2 separate regions of the Homo sapiens genome follow, and region 1 is linked to region 2. The links are contacts of gene promoters, found by promoter capture Hi-C in blood cells and fetal thymus (Javierre and others, 2016). All regions are on one chromosome and are shown on one strand. Each heading gives the region's core, a stretch centred on a gene start or on the middle of the fragment in contact. The rest is flanking DNA. Distances are from core to core; before and after follow the strand shown.

Region 1 (6,444 bases), core at 1,637-4,136, 320 kb after region 2:
AGAGTTCAAGACCAGCCTGGCCAACATGGTGAAACCCCGTCTCTAATAAAAATACAAAAAACAAAACTAAAACTAAAAATAAATAGCTGGGCATGGCGATGCATGCCTGTAATCCCAGCTACTCGGGAGGAGTCAGGAGAATCACTCCGACCCGGGAGGTGGAGGTTACAGTGAGTCAAAATTGCATCATTGCACTCCACCCTGGGCCACACAGTGAGATGCCATCTCAAAAAATAATAAATAAATAAATAAAACTGTAAACCAAAAATAAAATCTTAAGCCCCCGACCAACTGGACAGACCCTCTCAGGGCCAAGGGGACCTCAGAGAAACGTGAAAAATGGAATTCCTGACCGTGATAGGAAGGGAGGTCGGGAGGTTGGGAGGTCAGGAGGTCAGGAGGTCATGCATGTCTCATTATACCCGCTCCCTTTTGGAGTTTAGGAACATGACCAGCACTAACTTTAAAGTGGAGAGCACTAGGCTGACAAAACAGACTTGTAGCAATCAGATACCAATTTCCAAACTGACTCTGGTATAGCATCACATGTCAGACAGCAGGCCCTGAAAGAAATCAAAGCATTTTACTCCGAAATGTAATGTATTTCTTTCACATATTTTGAAATGGCCCTTCAAAGCTGTCATTTGTGGGGGAAATTTTGCCATCTCCAAAGAATCTCCATTAATGCAGCCAGGCCTTCCCAGATCTAGGAGAGATTAACTGAGAGTCTGTCGCCTTTCAAGATCCAAAAAGAGACACTGACCTTCTATCCTCTCGGAGGGCTGCCACCACTGAGGCTTCGTCAACTTAACACGAACCTTGGCCTCCATGGCCCCCCTTACCTTAACTCAAGCATTTCTTTTACTGACGTCAAGTCTTTAGACAAAGTTTCACTTTTTAAACCAACTGCCATTTAGAAAATCTTTGAATCCACCTATGACCTGTAAGCCTTCCCCCACCAAGAACTTCAAGAATCTTTGCCTCTTTAGGCTGAACCAACGTACACATTTCATGTATTGATTTGTGATTTTACCCACATTTCTTGGCTCCCTACAATGTATAAAACCAATCTGTTACTCGACTGCCTCGGGCACACATTCTGAGGACCCCAGGCCAAGGTCACTTGTATCTTGGCTCAGAATCAACCTCTTAAAATATTTTACAGAGTTTGGTTTTGTTCCCGTGAATATGAGTATGATTAAAATGCTAAGGGCTCTGATGGGTAAAACAGGCAGCACTTAAGAACAGATGGGCAATTTTAGCAGAGAGATAGAAGTCCTAAGAAAGAAGGAAAAAGAAACAGAAGAGATAAAAATGCAGGGGCAGAAATGAGCAGGGCTTATTAGTAGACTGGACGCCGCTGAGGAACGACCGTGTGAGCTCGAGGACACACCCATAGAAACTCTGGAAACTGAAAAGCAAAAAGAACAAAGAATGAAAAGAACAGACCATAGTATCAAAGGGCTGTGGGACAGCCACGAAAGGTGTAACAAAGATTAATGAGAATATCAGCAAGAGAAGAAAGAGAGAAGGAAGAGAAGAAATACTGGAAACAATAGCGTCTGAGAACTTCCACAAATTAATATCAGACACCAAACTACCTATCCATGAAGTGTAGCTCACCAAGCAGGGTCTGTGACCCCAAGCCTACACCTAGACATGCTATTTTCAAACACAGAAAAGCAAGGATTAAAAAAAAGTCCTGAAAAAAGCTAAAGGGAGGAAAAAAACCCAACACTTTACCTGTAGAGGAAAAAAGATGAGAATTAATTCTGTCTTCTTCTCAGAAACCAAGTAAGCAAGAAGAGAGTGCAGTGAAATATTTGAAGTATTTAGAGGAAAAAACACCCCGGCACAGAAATCTGTACCCTGCAGAATTACCCTTCAAAAGTGAGGGAGAAATAAAGACTTTCTCAGACAAACAAAAATTGAGGGAATTTGTTGACAGTAGACCCGTCTTACAAAAAATATTTTAAAAGATCCTTTAGAGAGAAGGAGAATAAAAAGGCCAGAATCTCAGATCTGCATTAGAAAAACAAAGAGGGCCAGGTGTAGTGGCTCACTCCTGTAATCCTAGCACTTTGGGAAGCCTAGGTGGGTGGATCCTCTGAGGTCAGGAGTTCGAGACCAGCCTGGCCAACATGTTGAAACCCCGTCTCTACTAAAAATACAAAATTAGCCGGGCATAGTGGTGCATGCTTGTAGTCCTAGCTACTGGGGAAGCTGAGGCAGGAGAATCGCTTGAACCCAGGAGGCAGAGGTTGCAGTGAGCCAAGATCATGCCACTGCACTCCAGCCTAGGCAACAAGAGCAAAATTCCGTCAAAAAAAAAAAAAAAAAAAAAGCTCTGAGAAAGGAAGAAGTGAAGGTAAAATGGAAGCTTTGATTTTTCATAACCTTAATTGACCTGATTGATAGGTAAATGTGTTCAAAATAATAACAGCAACAATGCATTTGATCATGTATGTTCATGTATGTATTTAATGTTTTATATATATTTGCACACACACATTTATGTCTGCTGATATATCAATGAAATGAATGACAGCAATGACACAGGGACTGAGGGGTAATTAGGCTTATTTGGTTGTTTTAAGGTACTCACGTTACCTGTGAAGTGGTGTAGTGTTTTTCAAAAGTGGGCTTAGATTAGTTGTAAATCTATATTGCAAACTCTAGAAAAACTACTAAAAAAAAGGTTAAAAAAAAGAATGTGATTGACCTGATAAGAAAGGAGAGAAAATGGAATTATATAAAATCTCAATCAAAATCAACTAAAAGGTTAGAAAAGAGTGGAAGACAAAAATAGGAGCAAGGTATAAAGGCAACAAATAAAAAACAATATCAAGTATGGTAGATATTAATCCAACTATATCAATCATTACTTTGAATGTCAATGGTCCAAATGCACCCATTGAAAGACAAAGATTATCAGAGTGAATGAAAAAGCAAGACCCAACTACATGTTATCTATAAGAAACCCACTTTAACTTAAAAGAAACGTATAGATTAAAAGTAAATGGATGGGGGAAATATATGCCATGCTACAACCAATGAAAAGAAAGTAGAAGATGTATTAATGCAGACAGAATAAGCTAGGAAAGCTACCAGAAATAAACAGGGCATTACATAATGATAAAGGTATCAGTTCCCCAAGTATATCTAACAATCCTTAACGTGATTAAGAACGGAGTCAAGCCAATGAGGCAAAAGCTAATAGAACTGCATGGAAAAATAGATGAACACACTGTTGTGGACTTCAACACCCTCTGTCAGAAATGGACAGTTCCAAGGGGCAGAAAAATCAGTAAAGACATAGGTGAACTCAGCAACACCAGCAATAACCTGGAAATAATTGGCATCTTAACATGTGAGTAAAAAAAGAAAGCTTAAGAGAAATTTAGAAATGTTTAAACAAAATAAAAATGAAAACACAACATACCAAAACTGTGATGCAGTGAAAGGAGTTTTTAGAAGGAAATTCATAGCATTGAATTCATATATTAGAAAAAGAGAAAGATCTAAAATCAACAATTTAAGTGTCCAACTTAAGAAACAAGTAAAGAAGAGCAAGTAAAATCCAAAGTAAGCAGCAGAAAAAAGTGGTTAAAAATTAAAGCTGAGATCAATAAAATTGAAAACAGGAAATGGACAGAGAAAATCAACAAAACCAAAATAGAGAGAGGACACAAACTTCTAATATCAGAAAAGAAAGAGAGATATCACTACAGATCCTATGGGAATTAAAAGAATGATTTTAAAAATGCTATGAACAACTCTATACCCACAAATTTGAAATCCCATTTAAAATGGACCAAATCCCTGAGAACACAATTTGCCAAAAATCACAAAAAAGAAATAAACAGTCTGAACAGGACTATGTCTATTAAAGAGATTGAATCAATAATTAATAACCTTCCAAATCAGAAAGCCCCAGGGCCAAATGGGTTTATTAATGAATTTTACCGAACATTTAAGGAAGATATTTTACCAGTTATCTAAGATCTCTTTTAGAGAATGGAAGCAGAGGGAAAACTTTCTAATGCATTCTGAGAAGGCAGTAATACCCTATGATAGGGTTTGTCTGTGTCCCCACCCAAATCTCATCTTGAATTGTGGCTCCCACAATCCTCACGTGTCATGGGAGGGACCCGGTGGGAGGTGATGGAATCATAGAGTGGGTTTTTCCCCTGCTATTCTCATGATAGTGAATAAGTCTCATGAGAGCTGATGGTTTTCTTTTTTTTTTTTTTTTTAATTTTTATTCTTTTTTTTTTTTTTTGAGACATAGTCTTGCTCTGTCGCCCAGGCTGGAGTGCAGAGGCGTGCTCTCAGCTCACTGCAAGTTCCGCCTCCCAGGTTCACGCCATTCTCCAGCCTCAGCCTCCACATAGCTGGGACTAAAAGCACCCGCCACCATGCCCGGCTAATTTTTGTATTTTTAGTAGAGACAGGGTTTCACTGTGTTAGCCAGGATGGTCTCGATCTCCTGACCTCATGATCCGCCCGCCCCGGCCTCCCAAAGTGCTGGGATTACAGGCTCGAGCCACTGCGCCCGGCCAAGATCTGATGGTTTTATAAAGGGCATTTCCCCTGCACACATTCTGTTTTGCCTGCTGCCATGTAAGATGCCTTTGCTCCTCCTTCACCTTCTGCCATAATTATGAGGCCTCTCCAGCCATGTGGAACTGTGAGTCCATTAAAACTCCTTTTCTTTATAAATTACCCAGTCTCAGGTATTTCTTCATAGCAGTATAAAAATGGACTAATATACCCTAATACCAAAACCAGACATTTTAGAAAAGGAAAACTCTACATCAAAATCTCTCATGAACATAAATCCCAAATCCTCCACAAAATATTAGCAAAACAAACTCAATAATATATCAAAAATTATGTATCATGACCAACTGGAAATTATCCCAGGTATGCAAGACTGGTTCAACATTCAAAAATCAATTAATGTAATCCATCACAGAAACAGGCTAAAAAGGAAAAAAAGAGATCATATTAATAGCTGCAGAAAATGCAACAAAATATGGCAAAATACAGTCCTCCTTTGTAATAAAAACTTTCAGTAAACTGGGAACAGAGAAGGACTTCCTCAGCTTGATAAAGAATTATCTATGAAAAACCTACAGTTAACATCATATTTAATGGTGATAAACTTGAAGCTTTCCCACTGAGACCAAGAGCAAGGCAAGAATATCCCTACTCACCACTCCTTTTCAAACACTGTACTGAAAGGCTTAGTTAATACAGTAAGACAAGAATAAAAAGGTAGACATATTGGGAGGGAAGAGATAAAACTGTATTTGTTTGCAGATGACATGATCATCTATGTAGAAATCTGAAAGCATTGACAAAAAAACTTGTGAAACTACTAAGTGATTATAGCAAGGTTGCAAGATACAAGGTAATATACAAAAGTCAATCACTTTCCTACATATCAGCAATAACAAGTGGAATATGAAATTTAAAAATAGTATTATTGGCTGGGCATGGTGGTTCACACCTGTAATCCCAGCACTTTGGGAGGCTGAGGTGGGAGGATCAGGAGGTCAGGAGTTCGAGACCAGCCTGGCCAACCTGGTGAAACCCCATCTCTACTAAAAATACAAAAGTTAGCCGGGCATGGTGGTGCATGCCTGTTATCCCAGCTACTCGGGAGGCTGAGGCAGGAGAATTGCTCGAACCTGGGAGGCGGAGATTGCAGTGAGCCAAGATCTTGCCATTGCACTCCAACTCTAAGTGACAGAGCAAGATGTCGTCTCCGAAAAAAAAAAAAAAAAAAAAAAAAAAAATATATATATATATATATATATATATATATATATATATAAAATTTACATTAGCACTCTCAAACAGGAAGCACTTAGGCATAAATCTAACAAAATATGTACAAGATATACATAAAGAAAATTACAAAACTCTGATGAGTGAAATAAGAGTTAAATACATGGAGAGATTATCGACATTTATGAATAAGAAGATTTGATATTGCCAAGATGTCAGTTCTTTCCAACTCGATCTACAGCTTCAATGCAATCTCAATCAAAATCCCAGAAAGTTATTTTTTAGATATTCACAAACTGAATCTAAAGTTGATGTGGAGAGGAAAAGAACCCAGAATAGCTTACACAACATTGAAGAAGAAAATTGGAAGATTGACACTACCCCGCTTCAAGACTTATTGTAAAGCTACAGAAATCAAGACCACATGGTATTGGTAAAAAAAAACAGACAAATGGATCAATGGAATGGAATAGAGATTTCAGAAACAGACCTACACAAATATAGTCAACCGATCTTTTACAATTGCTGAAAAGGAGCAAAGCCAATACAATGGTGCACAGATAGACTTTTCAACAGATGGTGTCAGAACGAGACATCAATATGCAAAAAAATGAATCCAGATAGACCTTACACCCTTCCCCAAAACCA
Region 2 (6,412 bases), core at 2,988-5,487:
TCGCTTGATGACTGCTCTGTATTTTTTTTAGAACTCCTGAAATAATACAGACAAATTAATTAAGATGACAAGTTGAGTATGAATATTACATTTCCTTTTTAGTATCGTGATTTGGAGAGACTGTAATTTGAATTTACTGCATTTTAATTCCTAAAATACCTATTCAGTATTTGGGGCGAGGAGAAAAGAATGTTTTCGGGACACATTTTGCTTTAGGCAAGTGGACTTTCTGTCTTGGTAAAGGCTCCCAAGGAGTGTGGGGAGGAAACCTCTAGATGCACCCAGGTGCTCAGCAGCCCCAACTCATGCAACTACTGTGCCTTCTCTTTGCTGTTTCCTGAGCTCGGTCACCCCTTCCTACAGGAAAAAAATGTGACAGAGTGGTCAGCCTTCAGGCCTGGACACAGACCTGGCCCCCAACCCAGGGCTTCCAGAAGGCGAATGGGCATCTTCAAATGCTTTTTGAGGTTTCAACAAGAGTCATGGGAATGATTCCTTTCCACCACGGAAGTCAGAGGCCATGGTGTTTTCAATGAAGTTTGTCTGGAAAAAAAGGTGGAAAAGGGTCCTTGCGGTAGAAGCTTTGGAGTCTCACGTGCCTTTACCTCTATCTCTGTTCATAGTGATGCCGTCCGAACACCATCTAACGGCAATCTTCAGACGGTGAGGTTAAGATGATAAAGGCAATCGTCAGATGGTGAGGTTAAGATGAAGATGTTTCCTTGCTATGGTTCTGCCCAAGGGACAAGATGAATTTTATCCTCTGAGTTCTTGCCCCATCTGGTCCAGGATGTCCAACTGGACTAAACTAACAAAATCAAACCCGGCATCTGGCCAGAATCAGCCTTGAGTGAATGACCTTGTCCAGTGATGATGCCCTGGGTGGGGAGCAGCTCTCGAAACATGCACCAGAGCAGGGCGCGGTGGCTCAAGCCTGTAATCCCAGCACTTTGGGAGGCCGAGGCAGGTGGATCACCTGAGGTTGGGAGTTCGAGACCAGACTGACCAACATGGAGAGACCCCGAGTCTGCTAAAGATACAAAATTGGCCAGGTGTGGTGGCACACGCCTGTAATCCCAGCTACTCAGGAGGCCGAGGCAGGTGAATCACTTGGGCCCGGGAGGTGGAGGTTGCGGTGAGCTGAGATTGGGCCACTGCACTCCAGCCTGGGCAACAAGAGTGAAACTCCTTCTTAAAAAAAACAAAAACAAAAACAAAAAACAAAACCATTCACCAGCTTGTCCTGTTATCACCACTTCCCAAGCCTCCTCTGATCCAACAGACCACGTTGGGTCCCTTCTCATGCTGCCCTGCACCTGCGCACACCTTCATCTGCTGCATGCTTTCAAGTAGAGAGTGCTTTGGTGATGTGGCTGGCAGCCCCGCTAGCTTAGGTGTCCCTGAGGTGATGTGGTCAGCAGCCCCGCTAGCTTAGGTGTCCCTGGGGCAGGGGCCGAGTCTTGCTCATCACTGACCCCAGTACCAAACCCCGCTTGCTCAAGGAGGAGTGCTGGGCGTCATGGCCAGAGGGCTGCAGGCCTGCCCAGCTGCCCCTTATCACAGTCTCTGGGCTCCTGGCTTCTTTGGGAATTTCTGTTTTGGTTTTCAAAGTGTATCCCTTGTTGCTGACAGTTGGTTATTTTTTAAAGGCACAGACATGGCAAGAGTCAAAAGTCCTCCAGGCTGAGAGTGAACACATATTGTGAGGGTGAGCATGCTGGCTTCAGCACATCCAAATGGGGTCCCTCAGGGTGTCCCCCGTCATTTGTGCCCAGCAACTTCCACATGTCTCCCAGGTTCTCCTCGTGTCCTACCCCTCTTAGGTCCTGGACGCCGACCTGCGGGGCTACATCTGTGAGTCTCCTTCCCCTCTGGCTTCTGCTGGGTTTGGCCAAAGGGACCTGGGCAGGGGTGTGGAGAAAGAGAATGGAGAGTGGTCAGAACCTTTATTTTCTGCTCCCTCCCCCGGGGCAGCCTGGAGCTGGCTGCGCCCCTCCCCTGAGGGCTTGGTTCCTGTTGGGCGGTCCTCTGCTCTGGGGCTCACCACAGGACTCCCCAGTTTCCTGTCCCCAGTGGTGGTGACAGAGCCTTGCTGTGATTCCCAGGTGTGGCCTCCCTGACCATCCCCACACCTCTGTACTGACCCCCTTTTGGGACCTTCTGTGAGTTGCCCAATTCAATTGAGTGTCCTGTCCTCTATGCAGGCTGGGATGGAGTTGAGAAAGACCTGTTCGACCCTCATTCAAATCCTGCTTGCTGACATGTCCTCCGCTCTTTGGTGCTGTGGCCAGCCAGGACCAGCTCCCCTCACCCTGTCCCTGCACCCACTGCTACCCAGACGCTTTTCCTGCTGTGGCCACGGAATCTGAATGGCCGGGGTCCTGCCAGCTACATATTAGGGTGGGCTTCCTTGTGTTTGTCTGGGAGCAGTGTGCAGATGTGGATTATCAAAAACCACGTTCTACCAGCAGATCTGGGCTTCAAAGAGCACCTTCTATTGTGTAAATGGAATTGAAAAAGCTCATCATGGAAAACGAGAAGCATTTTCAGCTCCTAAATTAGAGAATTTATGGTGATAAATCAAGAGTGTCTGCTCTAATAATCACAGGAAAAAACATGATAATATGATTTAATCTTAAAATATTTCTAACATAATATTAGAAAAATTATATTTCAGCTAATGTCTGGTTAGCCTGTTGTGAATGTATGCAAATATCTCAGGAAATATTAATATATACTGCCAGCTTTAGCTAATTAAAGAAATAGTTTTAGGAGTAACGGCCTCCTGATAATTTAATCACCGTTCAGTCTTTGCAGATAATTATGGTATTTGTTATTAAGTTCTCTCTGATTTTCCGAGGAATGAGAAATCTGATATAATCTTTTACTATGTGAGCCAAAAATTAAATTTTATTTCATTGTGAAAATTGTTGTGATCTGAAGATTTTAGAGCCAAGCTCCAGAAACGCTTCTCTCTTCTAGAACTGCCCAGTGTTGTGTTTTACAGGACTTGAACCCTGGGTTGCTGAGGAAGTGAACAGCTCTATGGCCAATAAAAGGCAATTAGGCTGAGATAAATTGTTGTGGAACAAATGATCTCATAAGAAGGTTTCCTTATGCTTACGCCTTATGAATAATCTTCTTACAAAGACTTTTTGAGGTATAATTTTAAAAATGATACTAATCATAGCATTTTAAAAAATAAAAAAGTGAAATGACCCAAAGTGTTTAATGATAATAAGATGGCCCAATAAATAACCTGCACTGATGTAATCCACATTAAAGGCAATATGATTCAGTCTTTAAAATTAAATTTTCAAAGAGTTCTTAAGACTGTTGTAGTTATAACTTTAAGTGAAAAAAAAGAGAAAATTATTTAAGTCGGCATGACCAAAAAAATCCATAGAAAAAAACGGAAAGGAAATATATAAAAAATGTTAAGTAGGTCCCCCAGAGTGGTGAAATTATACAGGTTGAGCATCTTGAATCTAAAAATCTGAAATCTGAAATGCTCCAAAATCTGAAACTTTCTGAGTGCTGACATGATGCTCAAAGGAAATGCTCACTGGAGCATTTTAGATTTTAGACTTTTGGATTCAAAATGCTCAACCATTAAGTGTAATGTAAATATTCCAAAATCCAAAACTCAAAACCTTTCTGGTCCCAACCATTTTGAATAAGAGATAACCTGTAGGATATTTTCATTTTCTTATTTTCTACTTCTATTTATTCTCCACATTATGTACCTGGCACATAGAAGATGTTTAATAACTAAGTATTGCTGAGTGAATAGTCAGGATAAGAACTCATTACTTTTTAGTCCATTTTTGGGAACTTAGGTTACAAAGTCTGCAGGGCCAGTGTTGTGGAAGTCACTGCTCTCTCCGACTCTTGGCAGGAAAAAGAGAAGTAGACTGCCTGTCTGCCAATGATGGCAGTCCCTGTGGGATACAAGGATGAGTGTGCCTGGTGCCCTCTCTACTGGAGCTCCAGTCCAGAGCTGGTGATGTGTCGGTGGACAAAGGACCGTGATAAAAGAAAGAATGGAGCAAGGACAGTCATCAAGTTCTCAGGGTGATTTGCTCACTGAACATCCCTGCTCCTCTGAAGCAGGCAAAGCAAGGGGACTTGCCTTGGCCAATGAAATTCAAGTACAAGTGTCATGTGGCAGTAGGGCCATGTGACTTGCCTTGGCCAATGAAATGTGAGCAGAAGTGTCATGGGGCTCTGCTGGGCAGAAGCTAAGAGCCAGCACTTGTTCACCATGTGCTCATTTCCTGTCTCTATGACAGGCTGCCGTGCTCCAGTTTGCGAATGCCCATCCACCTGTGAAGGGCTGAGCCAAGCCCTGGGCACGTGGTGAGTGACAGGCAGATCTTTGTGGAGGGAAGCCTCTGTGATTGCAGGACATTTGTTACTCGGTATAACCCAGCCTGTTCTAACTGACAGTGAACACAGCTCTGATTTACAGATAACACTGTGCTAACAAATCTATCATGTGCGTCTTACATCCTTGAATGTCATTGTAGGTTGGGGGTTGGGGTCTGAGTTCTGGTCCATTTTCCCCAGGCTTCATCTCCTGTGTCAATTCAGGCAAGAGGAAGAGAGAGGAGGAAGCTTCTAGATCCAAGCCAGAGGAGGTGGATGCAGCATCTGCCGCCCACAGCTTTGGGGCCTGGCCCAGCCTCCACCTGGCCGAGACACCCAACCCCGACCCCACCCACATGGGCGTGCAGAAGAGCCTGAGATGGTGCACACTGACCCATGGCAGAGTTACAGGTGACATTTCTTTTGTTTCTACATCCTAAATCTTTCTACAGTAGATGAACGTTTTGTAAGAGGACTTTTGCTGCCAGTTAGAAATGCATATTGCTGATGCACCCTCTGCAAGACCTTCTGAATCCAACGCCCTGGCGCAGTGGTCCTCAACCTTTTTGGCACCAGGGACACGTTTTGTGGAAGACAATTTCTCCACAGACTGGGGGTGGGGATGGTTTGGGGATGAAACTGTTCCATCTCAGATCATCAGGTATTAGATTCTCATAAGCAGTGGGCAACCGAGATCCCTCAAAAGCACGGTTCACAATAGGGATTGTGCTCCTATGAGAATCTAATGCCGCTGCTGATCTGACAGGAGGGTGAGCTTGGGTAGCAGTGCTCCTCAGCCTGCTGCTCACCTGCTGTGTGGCCTGGCTCCTAACAGGCCACAGACTGGTACTGGTTCATGGCTGGGAGTTGGGGACCCCTACCCTGCTGGATGGGGAGTCTCTAAGGTGTCATGGATGCCAGTGCAAAGCCTGTCTCCCCTGTGCCTCCCCTGTACCTCCCCCGCACCTCCCTGCACCTCTCTCTAGCCCTATTCCAGTGCCCTTCTTGGTGATGATGAGGCAGCTGAGGCCAGGGGCTTATTACTTCCCCAATTGCCACTGGCAATGGGGTTCCTCTGTGTGCTGGATTGGCGAGGGGACTAGCCCCCAAATTCTATCCTGAAGGTCTGCTATCTAGAGCTTTCAGGTGTGGTATCAGTGGTCTTAGATGGAGCTTCTCCAGCAGAGCTAGGGACAAAGGCTTGAGTTCAGGCTGTTTCTTTGGGCAGGGGTCTCAGGGCTCAGGCGAGCAGGAGTGAGTTGAGCGAGGGAGGGAAGGAGTGAATGGGAATACCAGATGGCTTATCCAATCGACAGCCGCTTGGAGTGGCTGATGCTGGGCTTTTTGAGACCTTCTGAGGCCCTTTATGAAATGCATCTCAGCACAGTCTCCTTGGGACAGTAAAGGAAAGAGAACTTATTATCTGCTTCTGTCCTGGCCGTGGAGGCCCTGTCTTTGGAGACTTGCATAACTGTGATTGCTGAGCAGCCTCCTGCAGGTGACCCCGGGGCCAAGGCAGGAAGTAAGAGGTGAGCAGATCTCCGAGCCCAGGTGGTGTCAGGTGACACCTATGCAAAGTGGATCAGAGCCTGGGAGGTACTGGGTGAAGTGCGAGGTGAGGCTGGGAGGGTTTTCATGTGGGGTATAAAAGGTATCCCATAGAATTACCTTACATAATGAGGTTTTGCACACGAGATGGGGCATACTCCTCCCTGTTCTGCACCCTGGATAATCCCTGGAGTGTGAGGGAAGGGAACATTTTATAGAATAGGACTGGTGGGAAGGTTCACTGTAGGGGACAATCAAGGAGAAAGAATAAAAGATTTTGCAAAACACCAAGCTGAAGTTTAGCTTCACTCTGTGGCTTTGGCGACCTGACCCCAGAGCACGTGCTGGTCCTGTGAACTTTGATGCTGCTGAGCTTTCCCCCATGCAGTTCCCTGCTTTGAATATGTGTCTTTCACATTGGGGTTGGGGTTACCCATCTCTTTCCTTAGCTGAAATGGCAACTTTTTCTCCCTGCCACCCCTCAAATCAGATAGAA

Evidence for each region. The method cuts DNA at HindIII sites, captures the fragments that hold promoters and counts their contacts. A CHiCAGO score of 5 or more calls a contact.
Region 1: a contact is called between a fragment that was not itself captured here and the fragment with the promoter of LINC01164 in region 2, in 1 of 17 cell types (M2 macrophages). The highest score is 5.9, in M2 macrophages.

Annotation. Positions count from the first base shown.
Region 1 is chr10:131,466,566-131,473,009 of GRCh38, reverse strand. No RefSeq gene overlaps it. Among named protein-coding and RNA genes, the nearest start is that of TCERG1L, 160 kb to the right of the region's middle. The HindIII fragment of the contact is 1,008 bases long and covers 2,383-3,390 here.
Region 2 is chr10:131,788,024-131,794,435 of GRCh38, reverse strand. LINC01164 (long intergenic non-protein coding RNA 1164) reads left to right here and starts at 4,237. Exons shown (of 5, transcript NR_038365.1): 1 at 4,237-4,359; 2 at 4,570-4,779. The HindIII fragment of the contact is 4,036 bases long and covers 584-4,619 here.